Linked DNA regions of Homo sapiens: all the other regions are linked to region 1. Evidence: promoter capture Hi-C in 16 types of primary human blood cells and fetal thymus (Javierre and others, 2016). All regions are on one chromosome and are shown on one strand. Each heading gives the region's core, a stretch centred on a gene start or on the middle of the fragment in contact. The rest is flanking DNA. Distances are from core to core; before and after follow the strand shown. Region 1 holds the start of PAK6-AS1 (PAK6 antisense RNA 1). Region 2 overlaps SRP14-DT (SRP14 divergent transcript). Region 3 overlaps LOC105370787 (a long non-coding RNA gene). Region 4 has its middle 14 kb from the start of BAHD1.

Region 1 (3,704 bases), core at 396-2,895:
AAGCCGAGGGCATTGGGCTTGTGGTGCAGCCACACAGGGTACAGACCTGTTTGGGACTGTCAGGTTCCCACGGGTTGCCTGAGCTCTATTAGGTGGGCGCCTTAGAGTAAATTGTGTGAAACCAATACAGCCTATAATGCAAAAGATTGAGCCGTGAGTAGATTGATGCGTCTAAAGAATCAGTGAACAAAAATAAGTGGCCATAGTGACCTCAGTTAATCATTGAAGTCTGAGGTGCCCAACAATGATTTTTAAAATCCCTGCACTGTCCTTGGTCCCCGCTCTGTGACACTGGCAGTCACCCAGCCACCACTTGACGGCAGCCATTTGGAGTCCACATGTACTGAGTTTCCAAGCCAGAACTTCCTCAGCACTCAGCCAGAACACAGCCTTTCTCTGGGGGCCCAAGACAAGGAGAGCAAAGGTCTTCTCACTTCTTTATCTGGGGAAGAGATGAGTGATTCCTGTCCCTTCCCCCAGTATAGAAAACACCCTGTACCCCAAAAGAAACATGGCACAGGGGCAGCCAGGAGTGAGCCCCTTGGAATGGCCATTCTGATCTTAGGCAGGGACTGCTGAGGACAAGCAGAGGATGCCGACTCTGGGACAAAATCACAGGCGGAGGGGCTCCGAAACAGGCCCTAGCCGCTCTGGGGGTGCGGGTCTCCTGCCCTAGGACTCTCAGGCTAGAAAGTCCTCAGGACTCAGGACTGCGCAAGGGCTGACAAGGGAACTGGAATCCCTTAAATCCCGCTTTCCTGCCTGCGCAAGGGGCTACCCCAGCACAGTCTTGGGGCCCTGTCCACATGGGACAGATCATCCAAGGTGACAGGTTTTCCGACTCCCGCGTGGGCTCTCCAGGATGTGTGGGTGGGCACACGCGGCCCGCTCAGGTCCGGGAGAGTCGGCCCGCGGCTCTGGAGCGTGCATCTGCGATGCCAGTGAACGAGGTGATTACACACAGCCGGCGCTCAGCTGATTCTCCAGGTCGGGTCTCCGCGAGGCGGCCACTGGGCCGTGGAGCCGCAGGCAGGTCCCCGCGGCTGTGGCCAGGCCAGGGCCCGGAGGCGAAGGGCGGGCGGGAACTGGGGCCAAGCAGGTGGAGAGAAAGAGTTGAGCAGCACGGCGCCCCTCGGGCAGAGGGGCTCCTGGCCAAGGCCCCAGCGACACTTGGCAACTTCTCCCGCGCTCTGGGTTCGCCGCCGCGTCCTACCTGAGGCCACACCCTGAAATCAAAATCGCGGTCAGGTGAAGCCGGCGCTGCACCAACGTGTAAGCGCGGCCCCTCCTCGGCGTTCCCGCGCCGAGGTCCCTCCCGCGGAGGGCGGGCCCGGCTCCCACGACCTCTTCGAGCGTTCCTGGGCTTCCCGCTCCGCAGGTGGGTTCCCCGGCTGCCCCGGAGGTTCGCGGCGAGAGGACGGGCCTCCCAACACGCGCAGCCCCCTTCCTGGGTGCCCATGCCCCGAAGTTCGGGACCAGCCGGCGCCAGGCGAGGGGCCTTGGGCGCAGGCATCTGGAGCTCCGCGTCCCTGGAGCGGGACCTCCCTCCGCGGGCGCCCGCCCGGCGCGGGGCATTCGCGTCCCCGAGAGGGCGCAGCAGTGGGGCCTGCGAGCTGGGGCCGGGTGGCCGCGCCGGGTCGGAGTGTGGCTGGAGAGGGGCCGCCCCGGAAGCGGTGCTGCGCCCAACGTCCCCTTCTCCCCGTAAGCCCCGCAAGGAGCCTGCCGCCTCTTGCACCTGAGCCAGGAGTTCAGTCGGGAGGCGGGCGCGGAGCGGTTCCCAGCGCCTGGACGTCAGCCAGTCGCAACACCCGCGGGAACACTTGCTACATTTGCCATAATGCATTTCTGATCTGTTTCCGCGCAGGCCTGCGGAGGACTGGCCCAGCAAGGTCCCAGGTCTTCCCTCTCCTCAGCGCCTAAGAGAGAGGCCCAGTGCGGGTGAGGAGTCGCGAGGAAGAGGCGGAAGGCGCCGGAAGGTGAGTGAGCGAGCGGCCCCCGGCCCTAGAGCCTTCTGCACCCATTTTGAAGAGCAGGCAGGGAGGGACAGTGGGCAGGCAGGTGGCCCTCCTGGGCTGGCTCCTTCCTGGTACTGCTAGGCAGCGGAGGTGGTCCCTTCCAGGTGCCGTCTCTCGATCCTTAGTGGGTGCATGTTAAGTCACTTACACCACTTTGCCCCATGGCCCCACGGTAGGCTGGTAGACGTCAAGACCTCAAATGGCCCGCCCTGCCCCCGGGCCCATCTTCAGGTCTGATGCCTGTCCTGGGTGAGGGTGTCACCGCGGCAGAGTGCAGGGAATTCATGCCGGGGAAGAGGTTCCCAAACAGGAAGGGTGGTGGCAGGCCCAGTGGCTGTGCAGGGCAGGGTGGGAGGCAGCCGTGGGAGACTCCCGCAGGAGTTACAGGTGAAGCTGCCGCTCCACACATCCCAGCCCACCGCTCATTCCCCAGATCTCCAGACCTGCTCAGGTGGCATCCGATCTGGAGTGTAGGTGCTGCTGGGAGCACTGGAGGCTAAGCCATGAAGAGCTCCCAGGGTGTAGGTTGCGTTTTCTGTATCTTGCCCCATTCTGGTGGTTTTTTGGGGGCTTTTCTGACTTGTTTTTCTGGGTGAAGGGGGCAGAGGGGCTCAGGTCTGTGTCCATGCTCGTTTTTGGTGGCCGGTGTGGCATAGGTTGCCGCATTGGATAAGAAAACGCCTGGTTCCATGCAAGGTGAGGTTCAGCCTGCAGTGCCATGAATTCTCCTCCATAGTATATAGGACAGTGGCCGAAGACACATTTGGAACCGAAGAGAGTGGGGTTTGAATCTATCCAGACTTTGCCTTTGACTCCTTAGACAAGTTGCTTCACTTCTCTACAAACTTATAAATGGCCTCATCTGTAAAATGGGAATGCGAATGCCTTCCTCCTCATTAGGCGGTTGTGGGGAGTAACTGCCTCATCAGCCTCCAGCTGCTATGTTGGGAAGGGCTAAGCCACTCCAAGTTCTCCCATCCTGGAGAGCTTTGAGGGCAGTCTGGCTGTTTGGCAAGCTATTGTCAGAGGGTATTAGAGCAAAGCAATAGGAATAAAGTAAAGGTAGGGGTCCTTGGAGGGCGAGTAGTGAGAGACCCTAATTCAGGGTCTCTGGACCTCGTGGTGACCCAGGGAAGGGGCCATTCCTGGAAGAGGATCTGGCTTGGGCATCAGAAACAGCAGCGCCCCCTGCACATCACACATGTTCATGTGTTCATGGGTGACCCTGGAACCTCAACTGTTGCCTGGGATAGAGGGAGCCTCTGGCTTGAGCTTCCAGTCCCATCTCTGTTCTGCATAGCTGTGTGATCCAGAGCAGGTCACTTGACTTCTCTGGGCACTGGGCATTGTGGATGAGCCTGGAGTTTGGAGTCGGAGAGATCTGACTTTGAATCCCAGCTCCACACTTACTGTCTTGGACAATTACTTCTCTCTGAGCCTCAGTTTCTTCATCTGTAAAACAGAGCTCGCAGTAGCTACAATTAGCCATTAGATGTACTAATAAAAAGCACCTAGCACAGTCTATCCATGTGGTGGGCACTTTATAAGCATACCTTTCTTTTCTTGCCTCCTCCTTCTCTCTCCAGCTCCCTGCTGTCTTTAAAATGGGCCCAGGAAAGCAGGTTCAGCCCAACTCACAATGGTGTTGTGAGTGTAAAGTTGTGAGTGTTAAGGAGGTGAAATAGAGGT
Region 2 (3,704 bases), core at 887-3,386, 190 kb before region 1:
GTGTCTTCATTTTTATCAGTGCTTCTTTTGTAAGGGCACTAATGCCCTTGTGCGGGCTCCACCCCCATGACCTAATCACCTCCCAAACAGCATCACCTCAGGGATGAAGATTTCAACATGTGAATTGTGGGGGACACAAGCATTCAGAACATAGCAGGTGGCATATGAAAGTGCAGACCACCATATCCAGCAAATACATATGCATTTCCAATAGTCAGGGGAAGAGACAGAGGGAGAGGTGGAGGAGGGTGGAGAAGAGGACAATCTTCTCTGAGGAGGTAACGTTTGGGCAGAATCCAATTCATAGATCTGGGAAGAAAAGTTCCAGCAAAGGGACAAGCAAGGGTCAAGATCCTCAGGGGAAGGAGAGGAGAGGGGCCTGCTCAAGACAGTGAGTGACCTTGGAGGAATTGGGACAGGGAAGGCAGTCAGCAAAGCTGGGAGTCGGGGGGGTGCTGGACCATGGGGAGCCTGGAAGGCCATGGCAGGGAGTTTGGGGTTTATCTTAAGAATAATGAGAAAAAGAAACTGGTCAGAAAAACCACATATTGCATTTTTCCATTTCTACAAAATATCCAAAATAGACAAACCCAGAGAGACAGAAAGCAGATTCGTGGTTGGCTGGGGCTGGGGAGATTGGGAGGAAATGGGGAGTGACTAATAATGGGTGCTGGGTTTCTTCTGAAGGATGATTACAATGTTCTAAAATTGATTGTGGTGATGGTTGCACAACCCTGCAAATATACAAAAAAAAAAAAAAGCCCATTGAATTGTATACTTTCAGTGGGTGAATTATATGATATGTGAATTACATCTCAATAAAGCTGATTTATTTATTTATTCATTTATTTATTTTGAGACAGGATCTTGTTCTGTCGCCTAGGCTGGAGTGCAGTGACGTGACACAATCACAGCTCACTGCAGCCTCGACCTCCCAGGCTCAAGTGATCCTCCTACCTCAGCCTCCTAAGTAACTGGGACTATAGGTGCATGCACCACCATACCCAGCTAATTTTTAAGGTGTTTTTTTTTTTTTTGTAGAGACAGGGGTCTCACTATATTGTCCAAGCTAGCCTCAAACTCCTAGGCTTGAGTGATCCTCCTGCCTTGGCCTCTCAAAGTGCTAGGATTATAAGCGTGAGCCACTATGCCCAGCCTTGTTATTTTTTAAAAAAGGATTTTAAAAAATTATAAAAAGGATAATAGGAAGCTGTTAGAGGGTGATTTAATCAGCAGTAACATTCTCACTCAGGCTGTTGTGGGAGAACAAACTGTAGGGAGGGGAGAGTGGGGGCAGGAGATGGTTGGGAAGCTAGTGCAGTCGGCCAGGCAAGGAGCAATAGTGACTTGGCCTGGGTGGGTCACTTTGTGATGAGGATTAATGAAAAGGCCAGACTGGGGTATTTTTTGAAGCTAGAGTTTGATAATTGGTTGTGAGGGGTGGGAGAGAGAGATGAATCCTGGCCATTTAACTGCAGTGAAAAGACTGGAGGAATAGTTGGACAAGCGGAGGGACGGGGCATACGAGTTCTGTTTTGAACATGACAGGCCTCCGAGGTGTCCACTAGGCAGACGGGATGTCAGGGCAGGGTTACCACCATGTAGATGGTCACTGCTAAGAGCTGGGCACTCCTCCAAACACATACATTAAATCATTTAGTCTTCTCAGTAACCTATGAGGCGAGAGCTGTAGCTATCCCTGTCCATAGGGGGCGTATCCTGTGTGCCATTTCAGATGCCCGCGGCCTCACCTCTTGTTCCAGCCATTGCCCCAGTGACCAGTTTTGCACAGGTCTTGACCAGTGCCGTGTAAATGTCGCCTGGCAGGGCCTCTCCACATGCCTCTCGCCCAACACCATGATGGGGGGACACCCATGGAACCTGCTTGGCATTAACACATGAGCCGCCCAGAAGTGAAGGGGAGCTAACATTCCATGGGATGACTCGAGAGGAGCCAATGGATAACTGTCCCCCTTCTTCCAGTGAGTTCTGAAGTACGTTTCATAAAGCTTCACAGAAAGACTGAGTGGTGTTCACTCAGAGAGATGTTAACACACTCCCATATTGACTCCCCCCTTTCTCTGTTTCATTCCTCCTCCCCCTCACCCCTGCTCCCTGGGATCATGTTCCCAAATAAACTACTCATGCTTAAGCCTTTGTCTCAGGCCCCATGTAAGATCTGATCTTACATGGAGAATTTAACAGCAACAACATCACACCAGGGGCATGCTCACCAGGGGCAGAGCAGGGGTTCACACCCCGGCAAGCTTCTCTACTCGCTTCCATGTTGCCTCTCAAAGATCCCAACCTCTAGAGGACATTTAAAGGCACAGGCCTAGATGGAATCTAACCATCTAACCGGGAGAGACTGTAAATAAGAAAAAAGTCCCCACACCATGCTCACATTTAGAGATCAAGAAGAGGAGGAGCCAGCGAAGGAGCCAGAGAAAGAGCTGCCATCCGGGTAGGAGGAAGCCAGACCAGTGTGGAGTCCTGGACTCCAAAGAAAGACAGCGTTGCAAGGAGGAGCGAGTGCCCTACTGTGCAAACGCTGCTGAGAAATTGAGGAGGTGAGACCAGGAGACAGACCTTTTGGATGCGCCAGTAGGAGGTCACTGGTGACTTGGACAAGGGCAGTTTCAATGGAGTGACAGAAACAAAAACTTGGCTGGTGTAGGCTAAGAGGGAATGGAGGTGAAGATTCGGAGAAGTAGCCAGCAGGGACAACCACTTCAAGGAGGGGTGCGTAAAAGGGAGGAGGAAGTGGAGCAGAAGCTGAAGAGGGTGTAGGGTCAAGGAAGAGTTTGTTTTGAAAGTGAGAGAGATCATAGCGCAGTTATGTGCCGAAGGGAATGGTCTGGCAGAGAGAAGGAGCTGGATAGTGCAGGAGGGAGAAAGGTGATTTCAGGCAGTCTTGAGTAAGTGAAGGGATATGGTGCACAAAATGAAGGGATTGGCCAGGGATGCAAGAGGAGGCCATCCCTCCATCTGTCCATCCATCTATCCATCTGTCCATCTGTCTGTCCATCCATCCGTCTGTCCGTCCGTCCGTCTGTCCACCCATCCATCCATCCATCCATCTGTCCGTCTGTCCATCTATCCTTCCGTCCATCCATCCATCCATCCATCTATCCATGCATGCATCCATTGTGAGGAAGAAAGGTAGCAGCGGGCATAGATGCAGGCACCTTGGGAGATCTGATGGTGAGAGGCACGTACGTTCCAGCAGATGACATTTAGTTTCTCAGCAAAATAAGAAGCAAGATCTTTAACTAACAGCGAGAAACTAAGGGAAGGTGTTGAGGGTTGGAGAAGATGTGAAACACTTATCTGGAGAGTGGCGCAGTGAATTTAGTAGAGAAATATAGTAAGATTACTGGGCAAGCTGAGCGCCCACTTGAAGTTTGTGGTCAGAAGCGTCAAGTGCGGCTATTCAGTATGACTGTGAGTTTCCCCGGCAATGCTCAGCTACTCAGTGCAGGTGCAGGGTGTTGGGTTTAAGCAGGGTGGAGGCTGTGTCAGGAGATTCCAAATGAAGGGAAAAGAGCAAGAAAGGAGAGGGCTTCCACAAATGGGTGATTCTTGTCAAGGCCTACAGAATTGAGCTGGAGAAGGGGGTTGAAGGCAGTGAAAAAGGACAAGTTCAAAGGCAGGGAGTTCCCAAAGGGGACACATCATTGAATGGAGGTAATAGAGTAGATAAG
Region 3 (3,704 bases), core at 330-2,829, 170 kb before region 1:
AAGGAAGGAAGGAAGGAAGGAAGGAAGGAAAGAAGGAAGGAAGGAGAAAGAAGGAAAAAGAAAGTCCCTTTTCACTCGTAAAATTAGCAAAATAAAAATGTTTCAGGCTGGCCATGTTGGCTCACAGCTGTATTCCCAGCACTAGATGGAAACGTGGTGATTTAGGATCCAGGTTCTGTTTAGCTCAATAAGCTAGACGTCCTCCCCTGAGGAGGGAAGACGGCTTGAACCCAAGAGGTCGAAGCTGCCGTGAGCTATGATTGTGCCATTGCAGCCTGGGCAACAGAGTGAGACCTGTCTCAAAAAAAAAACAAAAAAAGTTTCAAATGATAATACAGTTGACCCTTGAACAAGGGTTTGAACTGCGTGAGTCCACTTATGTGCATGCTTTTTTTTGTTGTTTTTTTTTTTTTTTTTTTTTTTTTGGTTTTTTTGTTTTTTGAGACAGGGTCTCACTCTGTCACCCAGGCTGGAATTCAGTGGCACGATCATGGCTCACTGCAGCCTCAACCTCCCTGGGCTCAGGTGATTTCCCACCTCAGCCTCCCGAGTAGCTGGGACTACAGGCACGTGCCACCATGCCCAGCTAATTTTTATATATTTTTTGTAGACACAAGGTTTCACCATGTTGCCCAGGCTAGTCTCAAACTCCTGGGCTCGAGGAATCCTCCTGCCTTGGCCTCCCAAAATGCTGGGATTACAGTCATGAGCCATGGTGCTCAGCCCAGATTTTTTTCAATAAAAGTTACACCAGGTGTGCCTGCCTCTCCTGCCTCCCGTGCCTCCCCTTCTACGAACTCCTTCATCTCTACTGCCTCTGCCACTCCTAAGACAGCAAGACCTACCCCTCTCTTCCTCCTCCTCAGCCTATTCAATGTGAAGATGATGAGAATGAAGATTTTGATGACGATCCACTTCCACATAATGAATACTAAATATATGTTTTCTTCCTTATGATTTTCTTAATAACATCTTCTTTGCTCTAGTTTATTGTAAGAACACAGAATATAATACATATAACACACACAATATGTGTGAATCGACTATGTTATCACTACGGCTTTTGTCAACAGTAAGCTATTAGTAGTTAAGTTTTGGAGGAGTCAAAAGTTATATATATGAATTTTCAACTAATGGGGGTGGGGGTGGTCAGTGCCCCTAATCCCAACATTGTTCAAGGGTCGACTGTACTGTATTCAATTTTGGTGACCTTGTGTTAGGTGGGACTCTCATATACTGTAAACAAAAGTGTAAAATGATAAAAACTTTCTGGAAGACAATTTAGGGACAGGTATCAAAGGCTTTTGAGAAATTCATACCCTTGTATCCAGAGATGGTTAGCAGTCCACTTATCATGCTTCCTTCCATAGTGTGCAGGTGATGCAGGGAAGTGGCTGCCCAGACAGGGACCATATTCCTCAGTTCTCCTTGCCGTAGGTGTGGCACCATGCCACCAGCCCTTGCTAATGAAAAATGAATGGAGGCAGTGTGTGTTGCTTCCAAGCTGACACGGTAAAGATGTGCCTCCTCCACCCTCTCTTTCTCTGTGTATAGTGGCTTTTCAAGGTACACGCTGAAGACAGCAGAGTGACAAGCTAGATGGAACCTGGATCCTAAATCACCATGTTAAAGGCCACCCACCAAATACTCAACATTGAACAGCTCTGTGAGTGAGAAATAAACTTTTATTGTGTGAAGTCTTTGAGGTTTGGGGCCTTATGTATTATAGCAATTTGTGTTGCTTACTGTGACCCAGAAATTGCACTTCTAGGAATGTTTCCTAAAGAAATAATCCAAGATTCAAAGACTGATAGAATCTGAGAACAATGGACAAAACCCGAAATGGCTATAATCACAATGAATGCTGCAAAGGGCTCTGAAACATGGGAATGGAAACTGAACAGCAGAGGACAGAAAATAAATTACAAAATTGCTCAGTAGTACAAATACAGTATTTGTGATGGGAATTAAGAACAATAGTTGAAAAGAAAATAAAAACCTGATCAGCAAGCCTGGTGTTTAATAAGTGTATACACTGACCCATTTGCACAAACATTTTGGAATAGATTGGTGAATGGATCCTGGCATGGAAATACTTTGTTAATTGTGATCAGAGGGTTATCAGCTCTTTTTCTCTAAGAAATTATTTGACATATGATTAAATTGCCAAGGTCTCTTCTACCTTTTATATATAGATTTTTCCAGCCCAAGTCCCCTAACATTATTGTTTTCATAACTCTGAAGGCTTTTCTTCTCCTCTTCATAGCTGATCCTTCTCACCATTCTCCCTGGCCTCAGGCAGTGATGGTAATATGGGTAACGTAAGTGCTACTACCAGAAATTATGTTAAAAATGTATTATGGGCTGGACATGGTGGCTCACACCTGTAATTCCAGCACTTTGGGAGGCCGAGGCGGGCAGATCACTTGAGGTCAGGAGTTCGAGACCAGCATGGCCAACATGGTAAAACCCCGTATCTTCTAAAAATACAGAAATTAGCCGGGCATGATAGCAGGCGCCTGTAATCCCAGCTACTTGGGGGGCTGAGGCAGGAGAATCACTTGAACCCAGGAAGCAGAAGTTGCAGTGAGCCAAGAATGCGCCACTGCACTCCAGCCTGGGTGACAGAGCAAGACCCCATCTCAAAAAAATATACATATGTGTGTATGTATATGTGTATGTATATATATATATATATTTTTAAATATGTTTATACTTTCAAATTACTTTCACATATATTGCCACTATTTTGGATAATTGTAATCTCTATGTCAAATAGCATCTTTCAGACTGGTGAGTCATATATATACCACAGTTGATTTTCAAGGTTTTATCTTTCAGTTTTTGAAATAGTAATCTCTAATATGGACACAAAATGTAAAGAGAAAAAAAATTGTTCCTCTTTGACTACTATATTATTCAGGATAGGCCAGGGTATGCTGCAGTAATAAAGCAACCCCCAAATTTCAGTGGACACAAAAAAACATTGACTTCTCTCTCTGCTGCATGTTCATTCCAGGTTGGCAGGGACATGGTTCCACATAGTCACTTAAGGACACAGGATGAAAAAGGCTATTTCATTTTGTAGTTGTGCTATTGGAACAAGGGGCCTCTTCAATCACTGGAACAAGGAAAGAGGAAAGTAAAGAAGGGCACGTGGGTATTTTCTGTCTTAGCCCAGAGGTGATCTGCATCATTTCTGCTTATATTTCATTGTCTGGAACTTGTCAAATGGTTCACCTAATATACAGGACTAAATACAATGTTTAGCAAGCATCACTGTCTCTAGTTACTTCTCTCATTCTGTCTACCATTTCTTTTCTGGGGCTGACTGTTTTCTACTTATCTTTGCACATATATGACAGTCTAACTTTCTGAAATTGTGCTAGATAAGGGACATCAAATATGTGAGGTTGTTTCCTCCTCCCATGCCCAGTAGACATTGCTCTTTGGTCATGGTACTCTTTTGGGCTAAGCCTGGATGTAGCATCAGAAACCTTCCCAATACAGCTGGCTGCCAGTTTCTCATTATCGCTAGAGATGAAACTTATTTGTCATCCCCTGCCTAAGGAATTCCACTAGCCCCGAGGACGTGGAACTGACTTGCTTGATTCTAATCTACACTACTCCATTACTTTCTTCAGGGATGGACATGAGACTAGCAGGCACCTGACCAATTCTGTTATCTGTACTGTTCACAAATA
Region 4 (3,704 bases), core at 374-2,873, 170 kb after region 1:
CATTTTGTTTTGAAACAGGGTCTCACTCTGTTCATGATCACAGCTCACTACAGCCTCAACCTTTTGGGCTCAAGCCATCTTCCTGCCTGGGCCTCCTAGGTAACTGGGATTACAGGGATTTGCCATAAAGCTCAGCTAATTTTTTTGTATTTTTTGTAGAGATGGGGCTTCATCATGTCGCCCAGGCTGGTCTCAGACTCCTGGGCTTAAGAGATCTGCCTGCCTCAGCCTCCCAAAGTGGCCTCCATGCTCAGCTCTTTTAAATTTTTTATTGTTTTTGAGACAGGGCCTCACTTTGTCACCCAGGCTGGAGTGCAGCGGCGCAGTCATGACTAACTGCAGCCTTGACCTCCCGGGCTCAAGTGATTCTCCCACTTCAGTCTCTTCAGTAGCTGGGATTAAAGGCCCAGTCCGGCTATTTTTTTTTTTTTTTCTTAAATGTTATAGAGACAGGGTCTCACTATGTTGCCCAGGCTGGTCTCCTGAGCTCAAGCCATCCTTCTGCTTCAGCCTCCCAAAGTGCTGGGATTACAAGTGTGAGCCACGGTGCCCAGCCTCATTCATGTTAATGAGCAGGACTGTAATCTCTTCAATTTTTTTTCTTGTGTAGTATTCCATAATGTGGAAATACAACAATTTAATTGTCCATTCTACTGTCGATGGACATTTGGGCTGTTTCCAGTTTGGGGCTATTCTAAAACATTCCTGGCCAGACGCGGTGGCTTATACCTGTAATCCCAGCACTTTGGGAGGCCGAGGCGGGTGGATCACCTGAGGTCAGGAGTTTGAAACAAGCCTGGCCAACATGGTGAAACCCTATCTCTACTAAAAATACAAAAATTAGCCGGGTGTGGTGGTGGATGCCTGTAATCCCAGCTACTCTAGAGGCTGAGGCACAAGAATAGCTAGAACCTGGGAGGCAGAGGTTGCAGTGAGCCGAGATCACACCATTGCACTCCAGCCTGGGCAACAGAGCGATACACTGTCTCAAAAAAAAAAAAAGAAAAGAAAAAACCATTCCTGTGGGTATCTTCTGATACAGATGTGCAAGTGTTCCTCAAGTCATAGTCCCAGGAATATAATTTATCTGTTGTAGGCTATGCACCTGATCAACCTTACTAGATAATTCAAAACTGTTTTCCAAAGTAGTTGTGGGCCTATTAGAATGATGCCACCAGAGGTGACTTGGGGCAAAAGTTGAATGCCAGCCCCAGGGCTAACCCCATGAGCTTATTTTCAGCAAGGGAGAGAAATCAGATGGCAAAAGTGTGCATCTGTGCATCGCTGCTTCCCCAGCCAGGCCCATAAACCACATGTTGAACAAACCTTTATAGGCAAGCTACTAAGACCCATGCACTGGGCGACGGGCTGGGGAGATGGTAATGATTTAGCACAGACCAGCCTCAGAGAGCAACAATTACGTTTCCATTTACCCTGCCAGGCAGCCGGATGCTCCAGTTTTGCCCTGGAAGACACGAGAGAGTAAGGGCTGGATAGATAAGTGGGAATTTTCTTGAAGAAAAAAAGGTATTCCAGGCCCAGGAATATCTCAGCACAGGCAGTACCTCCGCTCCTCAAAGGTGGCCAGTGGATCAGTGGCGGAAGTACAGAGGGCTGCCCTTGCTGGCAGAAGAAGGAAGGAAGGAAGCAAGAAGACTAGGGCTACGCTCGCACTGGCAGAGAGAGACACAGCTCCAGATCCAGATCCATTCAGACACAGCTTGTGCCTTGTGCCCGTCCAGGAGCAAACATGGGTGAGCATGCACATGGACATGCATACGTCTGCACACACTTTCAGAGAGGCTGTCAGACACGCTGCAGGAGCAGAGGCAAGGAGCGTGAACACGCAGCTGCTTGTGGGAGATAAGCCCAGCGCTGGGGGCTGCCTGCCTGGCCTGCCTTGAGAGTCCCCTTGCACATCTGCCTGGGTTCCCAAGAGGCAACCTCTACAAAGACATGTGTTTTCAGGACAACCTGCCCCCTCCCGCAAAGTCTTTCTATTTACAGGAATAGAGTAGCAAAATCCCTTAGTTCATACTTGAGTCTTGTCTGATGCTGCAGGCTGGCCAGGGCTGGGCATACAGTGGGTCTCTTTACTTGTTGAAGTAGAATAGTTAAATGAAATTTACTATAAGATAAATTAAGATAACTTTACTATAAGATATATTAAGATTTAAAATAGGGGGAAAGAGGAACCTGAAATGAGAAAAGGGTAGTGAAGGAAGACTTGATGTCCTTCATAACTGGCCTGCATCCTGCCCAGCCCCTCCTTTCTTTCCAGAAGCCCACCAGTGGCCCAGAGTGGAAGGGTGGGAGTCAGACCAGTCCAAGGTTGCTAATTAAGACTGGACTGCCAGGCACGGTGGCTCATGCCTGTAATCCCAGCACTTTGGGAGGCTGAGGCGGGCAGATCACCTGAGGTCAGAAGTTTGAGACCAGCCTGGCCAACATGGTGAAACCCCGTCTTTACTAAAAATAAAAAAATTGGCTGGGTGTGGTGGCACGCACCTGTAATGCCAGCTACTCAGGAGGCTGAGGCAGGAGAATTGCTTGAACCTGGGAGACGGAGGTTGCAGTGAGCCGAGATTTGGCCACTGCACTCCAGCCTGGGTGACAGAGTGAGACTCCGTGTCAAAAAAAAAAAAAAAAAGACTGGACTGTTTGTGGGTTTTATATGACTGCTGCTTGAGACTGCTTGAGAGAGCTGAGATCTGCTCTCCCTTCCTAAGACTGCTTCCAAGGCCCGGAGCTGGCAGCAGTTCAGAATCACCACCTAGATATTGAGATCCAGCCAGTTCCAGGTCCTCTTGTACCTCTTCCCAGCCCCTCTCTCCCAGGTACCCCGGGCAAAGTATACTCTACGGTCCTTTGAGGCTGGAGAAGCAGGTGGTTGTGAAATAGGCTGGCCTTTGGGACCTCCCTCTCCCCTGGTACCCTCCCTCCCTAGGAGGCTGCTTGGCTCCAGAGTGAAGGAGCAAGTGGGGGCCCTCCATAGTCTTCTCCTTCCATGGCCAAGCCGCCCAGGTGCTTGGAACCTGGCCACACACATCCAGGTGCCCCATTCACTGGCCCTCCAGGCTGTCAGAGACCTTTGTATTGCAGTTTTTCTGCCCTCCCACCTGATCACCCACACCTCCAAGGGGGCTGCAACCTCCTGTTCGGGACTCCTGAGCCTGGAGAGAGGCTGTGGGGGGTGGGGCAAGAGCCCTGGAAGTGCCCCAGAATGTGGAGCCTGTTGCCAATAGGGGCAACAAGACAATCTCTCTGTAGGACTGACTGTGAGGCCTCCCCAAAGAAGGATCGGGCAGAGAAATGCAGGGTCCTCAGCCCTGCCTGGGACATCTGCAGCTGCCTCAGAGCTCACATTGTGTGGATCCCAACAGCATTTCCCTCAGTAATGAGGACCCAGCCCGGTCCCAATTCTGCATTCCCCTCATCCCCAAGGCTGGAAACTCCCTATGGCCACTCCTGTGGGCTCAGCCATCTTACACTACAAGCTCCTCTGATAAGTCCCATCCCTCCGCCCAGCCTGCCCACTCACCAGGAACAGCCATACAACTCATTTCCCTGCTGCCCCATGGAAACTTCATCTCTCTGTGCCTCAGAGGGTCTGCCAAGCCCCTGTGGCCCACCACTCCATCCCCTGCCAGTGGATGCTCTGGCATGGCCAGCGTCCTCACTTAGGCACCTGTCCCCCAGCTGGC

The links. The method cuts DNA at HindIII sites, captures the fragments that hold promoters and counts their contacts. A CHiCAGO score of 5 or more calls a contact.
Region 2: a fragment that was not itself captured here is called in contact with the fragment with the promoter of PAK6-AS1 in region 1 in 9 of 17 cell types (naive CD4 T cells, total B cells, naive B cells and 6 more); the score reaches 8.2 in naive CD4 T cells.
Region 3: a contact is called between a fragment that was not itself captured here and the fragment with the promoter of PAK6-AS1 in region 1, in 2 of 17 cell types (naive CD8 T cells and activated CD4 T cells). The highest score is 5.3, in naive CD8 T cells.
Region 4: a fragment that was not itself captured here is called in contact with the fragment with the promoter of PAK6-AS1 in region 1 in 1 of 17 cell types (neutrophils); the score reaches 5.6 in neutrophils.

What each region holds. Positions count from the first base shown.
Region 1 is chr15:40,251,314-40,255,017 of GRCh38, forward strand. It overlaps PAK6-AS1 (PAK6 antisense RNA 1), which reads right to left and starts at 1,646. Exons shown (of 2, transcript NR_168270.1): 1 at 1,345-1,646; 2 at 1-1,226. BUB1B-PAK6 (BUB1B-PAK6 readthrough) reads left to right here. Exons shown (of 10, transcript NM_001128629.3): 2 at 1,865-1,976. PAK6 (p21 (RAC1) activated kinase 6) reads left to right here. Exons shown (of 11, transcript NM_001395430.1): 3 at 1,865-1,976. RefSeq lists a silencer at 1,628-1,717. The HindIII fragment of the contact is 18,506 bases long and covers 1-3,704 here.
Region 2 is chr15:40,058,270-40,061,973 of GRCh38, forward strand. The region is part of intron 2 of SRP14-DT (SRP14 divergent transcript); the gene reads left to right. Among named protein-coding and RNA genes, the nearest start is that of SRP14-DT, 21 kb to the left of the region's middle. RefSeq lists an enhancer at 3,312-3,371. The HindIII fragment of the contact is 258 bases long and covers 2,008-2,265 here.
Region 3 is chr15:40,077,339-40,081,042 of GRCh38, forward strand. It overlaps LOC105370787 (a long non-coding RNA gene), which reads right to left. Exons shown (of 3, transcript NR_188231.1): 2 at 1,320-1,463. Among named protein-coding and RNA genes, the nearest start is that of BMF, 30 kb to the right of the region's middle. RefSeq lists an enhancer at 1-224. The HindIII fragment of the contact is 5,257 bases long and covers 1-3,704 here.
Region 4 is chr15:40,425,549-40,429,252 of GRCh38, forward strand. It overlaps a transcript of IVD not described here. Among named protein-coding and RNA genes, the nearest start is that of BAHD1, 14 kb to the right of the region's middle. The HindIII fragment of the contact is 7,750 bases long and covers 1-3,704 here.